Regions from separate parts of the Homo sapiens genome. Here region 2 is linked to region 1. The links are contacts of gene promoters, found by promoter capture Hi-C in human tissues and cell types (Jung and others, 2019). All regions are on one chromosome and are shown on one strand. The core of a region is centred on a gene start or on the middle of the fragment in contact, and the rest is flanking DNA. Distances in the headings are between cores, read along the strand shown.

Evidence for each region. The method cuts DNA at HindIII sites, captures the fragments that hold promoters and counts their contacts. A contact is called where the count stands out against the background at its distance.
Region 2: a contact is called between a fragment that was not itself captured here and the fragment with the promoter of MKX in region 1, in 1 of the 25 tissues and cell types used here (H1 embryonic stem cells).

Annotation. Positions count from the first base shown.
Region 1 is chr10:27,743,789-27,747,433 of GRCh38, forward strand. It overlaps MKX (mohawk homeobox), which reads right to left and starts at 2,031. Exons shown (of 7, transcript NM_173576.3): 1 at 1,919-2,031. It overlaps MKX-AS1 (MKX antisense RNA 1), which reads left to right and starts at 827. Exons shown (of 2, transcript NR_121652.1): 1 at 827-1,160. RefSeq lists an enhancer at 1,522-2,112. The HindIII fragment of the contact is 9,708 bases long and covers 1-3,645 here.
Region 2 is chr10:28,259,440-28,262,792 of GRCh38, forward strand. All of the region lies in intron 1 of MPP7 (MAGUK p55 scaffold protein 7), which reads right to left. Among named protein-coding and RNA genes, the nearest start is that of MIR8086, 28 kb to the right of the region's middle. The HindIII fragment of the contact is 3,764 bases long and covers 1-3,353 here.

The sequences.
Region 1 (3,645 bases), core at 781-3,280:
CGAATTCCCAAACGAGCCTCTGGGTTTCAGTTTGAATCTGGGAGAGGCATACTCCGGACTGCGGAGCGCGACCGGCGTGAGGCCGCGCGTGGTTCTTCAATCACAGCAGAAGACTAAAGCCTCTAGGAACCCCAACTCGGGGCGTCAGGAGGGGTTGGATGGAAGGGAAGATTTGGGGTAATGTGCCAACCGTATCCACAAGACCCCCCAGCTCATGAGTCCCAGGCCATACCGGGATTTGGGGGATTTTCGTGTTTTCTAGATCGTGGATGGTTTGGTTGAAACCCCCGCATCTTCTGTCCGCCAAGGTCCCCCGGGGTGAGGTTGGGTTCAAGGACAGGAAAAAGTTAAGTGGCGTCAGGACGAAAGCACCACTTCTCCCCCTTCTCTCCCAGAATCTTCCTATCATCCCCCAACGCGCCCCGGGAAGTGCATGGTCCTAAGGTCCAAGGCGCCAGGACCCAGGTCCCCAGAGCCCTCAATCAGTGCCATTCTCTTCCGCAGCGCGGGTGTCAGCCGCGAGCTCGTAGCCCCTCGACACCCGCCTCTCTCTGGGGTCTCCGGGGACCCTTTCAGAGGCTGTAAAGGTGTCAGAAGCCCAAGGCAGGAGGCAGCTTGGTCGGCGCACCTCCCGGGCCACTGCTGCCACTGTCGGGGAGAGCCAGCAGCTCACCTCTGGGGTCGCGGAGGCCCTGAGCCTCTGCCTGCCGCGCACCGGCGTCAGGAGCAAGTCCGCGCGGCCGCGGAGCCGCAGAGTTACAGCCCCAAGGCGCGCGGCGGACTTCGCCCGCCCCATCTCCTCGCCTCGCGCCTCGGGACAGCTCCCGTTTCCTCCGAGCGGCCTCAGCTTCGCTGCCAGCGCCCCCTTTGCCCGTCCAGCCGCGGCATGGGCTGCTACTCCACTAACACACGCGCGCGCGCATACACACACACACACACACACACACACACACACACCCTTTGCCTCGCCAAGCGCCCACACTCGCCAACGCCCCCGCCCCGCCCTTCGGCCACCGCAGCAGAGGCCACGCGTGACATTTAGGACCACGCGTGACCACCGCGATCAAACGACGGCTACGGTCTGTGTTCGTAGGGAAGTGAAGTCAGACCTCTGCTGGATGTCGTGTGTCCCCTAGGACTGCGTCCTCCCGCGCAGACAGGTACGTGCCTGGGGTGTGCACATAGCCTCGGTGATAAGTGTCAAAGAGAATTTTCGTGCTTGCAGCCCCTGTTCTACAGTCAAGACTCGCGTTGGTGTTTTCTTTTAAAATCATGCCCTTAGGGATGTGTGTTCATGCTGCTTTATTTGTACAAGACACCCTTCCCCGGCCCGGCCTTCTCCGAGCCACCCCAGCGCGTCCTCCTAGATGCGACGACGTGTTTTTCCTAGCGAAGTCATCACGAGGTTAGCCACCTCGGACACTTCCCCGGCAGCCCCAAGCCCACGCAGAGATCGCAGACACAGACACCCGGCGCGCTGTAGGTCTGCAGGCAGCAGGCTCAGAGGCAAGCGATGGCAAAGGTCCGAGCGCTGTCCTGTCGCAAGGGGTCCGGGGGCGTGTGAACCACACTTGCTGACCCTCCCAGGACTCCCGCGCGCGGCCACCCGCGCCTCTTCTCAAATCACTTACCCCGATTCACTCCAGACTGTGGCCGGGGAGGTCACTCCCTGCAGAAGTGTCCCCCTCCCCCAACGCCGGCGAATAATTTTAAAGCAAAGGAGGCGCGGCCAGGTGGGCTCCCAAGCTCCGCGCAGACCCTTGGGCCAGCCTTGGCCGCTACCCGAGCGCCTCTCCACCAGACCTTGGAGGGAAGTTGGGGGAAGGGCGGGAGAGCACCGGCGCCCAGGGCGCAGGGGCCAGAGCGAGCCTGGCGTTCCGCCGCAGCCGGCTGAGACTCGGCGACGCGGGGGCTGTACCTGTGGCTGCGGGGCCGACGGCCGGCTGCAGGGCGGCTGGCTCTCCCGCCTCGAGACTAGGCGCACTCCCATCCCCGCCGCATGTTCTCCACGCGGGCTCCAGCGCGCTCACCACCGCCACCGCCGTCGTCTCGGCTTTATTTACCCAGCCCGGCGCGCGCCGCCCGGGAACAGGAATAGCGAGGCCTTCTCATGTTTCCTGACTGCCGGTCCCAGCCGGCGAACATCCTGCGGGCGCGGTATCCACGTTCCCGGGCGGGTGGAGAGGAAGCGTCCGCGCCCGCCCGGCCGCGGGGGCTGCTGTTAACCCCTAGCAGAGGAGCCGCTGCCGGGGAGCCCCGGGCCCGCCGAGTCCTCCGGAGCCGGGCGCGGCTCCCAGATCCGCCGGCCTTGCAGTCGTGGAGCAGACGGGGCTTTTCCCTTCGCACTTTAGGAGAGAAATTGGAGAAGCTGCCGGGAGCGCTCGGCTCCGGCTCCAGAAGCTGAGAGGCTGCGGTGCAAATCCCGTGTCTTAGCTGGCCCGATTGCCGGAAATTTCACTGCGCGTGGCTAGGCGGGAGAGGCCACTGTGACGCGCCCTGTATTTTCCTCTCGATTAGCTGGAGGGAAGTTAGAGCTCCGTTTTGCACCTACAGCCCTGGAGCGTATTGCGGGAAGTGCTAGTGCCCAGGAGCCTCTTTTCTGATGTCACTGGGCTTCTGGGGTCCTAGTTGTCTCAGTCAAAGCCAGGCACACATTCACCTCCGGGGCAAGGGCTGGTGAGGCTGCCCTCGCCGCTGGGTATAGGGATGGGGGAAAGCAAGGATGGGATGAGTTCAGCCCAGGTGGCCAACCCGCGGTGGCCCAAGTGCAGAAGAGGAAGCGCGCCCAAAGCCAAGGATCTGCACGCAGCAAAGGAGATGGAACTTAGAAGAATCACAAGCTGGGACACAGGGCAAAGAGAGAGAATGGCTACCAGATTCTCTGATTGATGATACTTTGCTTCCTAACATTACCGCAAATATAAGTAGCGAAAGCGGCGGTTTAGGTGCAACTGCAAGCTCAGAGCTTCTGGCAGCCCAGAAGATCCCCAAGGTGCCAACACGAAGCTGCCTGCGCTCTCGCCGAAGGCCCTGTGGTCCTAGCGAACTTTCGCCCTTTTTAAAGAACAAACTTAGATTTCCCCCCACCAAGCTTAAAGAAATAGCGCCATTTGTCCTTTTCCCCTCTAAATGCGGCTGGCCAGAGCCGGGGCAGTGGCCCACCTTAGCATCTTCTTCGTGTGTGTGTGTGTGTGTGCGCGTGTGTGTGTGTGTGTTTGTGTGTTGGGGGGGTCGCTAGAAGTGCTTAAAATATATACCAAAACTATTATTTTAAAGACTAATCACACCCTCAAATTTCATATGTGTCACCTCCCAAATTACGCGATAGCAAACCGTTGTGCAGGGGTACAATGTAAACCATAAAGGAAGGCCGGTTTACATTTTTGCGCACCAGGAAGATACAAAGTATCATTGGAGCACGTTCTGATGTCCTCGGTTCTCTTTTGTTATATAACTTGCTGTTGCAGCGCTTGCATCTTGTCTTTGGCGCTGCCCTTGTGGTGTGAGTTCAGTACAGGCTTCTGGTCTACAGACCTCGCTGTAGGAGCTTAAAGACAGGGGTAAATCCTAAGGTTTCAGCCATCAATTTTCAGCTAACAAATTTCACCACAGAAGCAGATCTAATTGATAATTCATAGGACAAAA
Region 2 (3,353 bases), core at 261-2,760, 520 kb after region 1:
CGTCATGGTGCACGCCTGTAGTCCCAGCTACTTGTGAGGCTGAGGAGGGAGAATCACTTGAGCCCAGGAGGTGGGACTGAACCACTGCAGTGAGCCGAGATTGCACCACTGCACTCCAGCCTGGGTGACAGAGAGAGACTCCATCAAAAAGAAAAAGAAAAAGATGAGGGGAGGGGGAGGGGAGAGAAGAGAAGGATGCAGGGAGGCAGGAGATGAGTTAGTTATGTTTTCTAATATGCATGAAAATAAAAGCATATGGGCAGGTGCAGTGGCTCATGCCTGGAATCCCAGTACTTTGGGAGGCTGAGGTGGGAGAATCGCTTGAGCCCAGGAGTTCTAGGCCAGAGCGTGGGCAACATGACAAAATCCCATCTCTACAAAAAAATACAAAAAATTAGCCAGGCACGGTGGTGTGCCCCTGTAATGCCAACTGCTCAGGAGGCTGAGGTGGGAGGATCACCTGAGTCCAGGAAGTCAAGGCTGCAGTGAGCCATGATTGTGCCACTGCACTCCAGCCTGGGTGACAGAGCAAGAGTCTGTCACTCTGTCCCCCATAACAAGAAAAGCATAGTGCTTAAAACAAAAACTCTTCATTAGAATACTTCAGAAATAACCCTGCATGTCCATACTTAGGAAACATTGATATTTAACAAAACAAACAAAAACACAGAAAACACTATATTAGCAGCTATTTATAAATACTGTTACAATAATTTTATGGCATTATCATCATCGACATATTTGAGTCCATCCCTCTTTCTACTTGTTAATTAATACATGCTTAATTATCTAAAAAGTATTCAATCATTTCCAGTGGCAATTCATCCATTCCAGTCTCCCTGGCTCTCTATAAATGATCTATGTATTATATTATGTATTAGTCTATATGTATGCATTAGTTAATGATCTGAAGCAGTTATACAAAGCTTCCTTATACCTACAGACTATAAATGGTTCTTTCCTTCAATCACTTGTCAAGATAAAGAAATCTAAAACATATGAAAATACCAGAGACTATATTTAACTATGTTCTAACCAAATAGTATGTTTCTGGCCAGGCATGGTGGCTCATGCCTGTAATCCCAACACTTTAGGAGGCCAAGGTGGGCGGATCACCTGAGGTCAGGAATGAGACCAGCCTGACCAACAGGGCAAAACCCTGTCTCTACTAAAAATACAAAAATTAGCCAGACATGGTGGCACATGCCTGTAGTGCCACCTACTCAAGAGGCTGAGACAGGAGAATCGCTCGAACCTAGGAGGCGGAGGTTGCAGTGAGCCAAGATTGTGCTGCTGCACTCCAGCTTGGGTAACAGAGAGACTCCATCTCAAAAAAAAAAAAAAAAAAAAAAAAATTTTTTTTAAATAGCATGTTTCTTCTGGCACAATTTAAAGTGAAAGTGAAAAGGCTCTGTTTTCTACATGATGCATTTCAACTCAGTGTGAGTTGATTTATTTTATGCCCAATTGATGTTAGAGAAAGAATTCAAATGGTTTTTCCAAGTATGTAAGGTGCCTACAAAATTACACTATAAAATTTATTCTTTAATAGCCTAGTTCTTTACCAAAGCAATTAGTTTTCATAAGTCACTCCAGCAAATCACAAAGCCAGATGGGTCCCCAATTCAATCAATTATCTTTAATCTTTCAACTAAGAAAAATTGCTCTTTATATACTTTGTCTCTGTAGTTCTCTTTCCAGAATTAACCATTTTGGCAGTGATGTATGCTTGTTAGCAAAAGTAGATCCTACACACAGGTGAGAAAACACAGAATTAACTGTGAACACTTTCCTTCCTAGCAAGGTGAGCAGAACACTGAACCATGACTTAACGAAAGACTGCCCAAGTCATTCACTGGGGTGGAACCCTATGGTGTTTATCACAAACATACTTCCCACCAACACGGTGGCTTTGCGCTCCACTGGCCAGTGCTTTTTATATTGAAATGAGTCAAAGACCAGATCCAGCGCAGTCACCATAGTTCCACTAAGATTTAAGCGAGGCAAACCATTGTCCCTGCCATTCTATCCTAAATGTGGTCATAAGTGGGACAGCAGAGAAAGCCACAGTACTTATCCAAGGTTGCAACACCTCCACTCTTCTGCTGACCTCCAAATACATACCTAGGCAGCACAGCCTTCTCCATCAGGTGACCCCAGAGTACACAGAGTGTGGATATCAGACACACCCCAATGACAATGACGTAGAACACCCTCCAATGTAGTACAAGAAACTGATCATACAATATACTCACAAATACATTTCTCTATCCTGAGAGAGAGACCGGTTTATCTCACTTTCTATCTCTCCATTTATAATTTTTGGCCAGGTGCCAATGGCTCATGTCTGTAACCTCAACACTTTGGGAGGCCGAGGCAGGAGGATTGCTTGAGCCCAGGAGCTCGAGACCAGCTTGGGCAACATAACAAGACCCCATTATGGCTCACACCTGTAATCCCAGCACTTTGGGAGGCCGAGGTGGGTGGATTGCTTGAGGTCAAGAGTTCAAGACCAGCCTGGCCAACATGGTGAAACCCCATCTCTACTAAAAATACAAAAAATTAGCCGGGCATGGTGGCGCACACCTGTAGTCCCAGCTACTCAGGAGGCTGAGGCAGGAGAATCGCTTGAACTTGGGACCAGAGGTTGCAGTGAGCTGAGAATGCACCACTGCACTCCAGCCTGGGCGACAGAGCAAGACTCTGTCTCAAAAAAAAGAAAAAGGAAATAAATAAATAAATAAATTATATATATATATATATATATACATATATATATATATATACATATATATATATATATACATATATATATATATGTATATATATATATATATATTTTTTTTTTTTTCTTCACCATGTTGGCCAGGATGGTCTCGCTCTCCTGACCTTGTGATCCACCGGCCTCGGCCTCCCAAAGTGCTGGGATTACAGGTGTGAGCCACCATGCCCAGCCAATAATATAATTTTTGACTGAACTAGTAATTTATAATGAAACTAACAGTATATCCCAAAGAGGCACAATGCATTAAGCCAGTAACTGCAAGTCCTTTTAAAAAGTTGTCACAAATATTTTAGGTTACTACACAGGTGTCATAAATAATACTCTAGTATAAATGGCCTTTGGCCCTTTGGAAGCCACAGACATTTTTTAATCTGATGAAAACTATGGATCCTTTCTTTCCTAAGAAACATTCGCTAGTTACACAAAAAGCTGCACCTATTCTAAACAGGTTGTACATTCATTAGACTCTAAAGTCCAATCATGTACACAGCTCAGGAACTCTTACTTGAGTGGCTTGAGGAGACTAATACAATGCTAAATCTCACATTTAGCCGGACGCAGTGGCTCA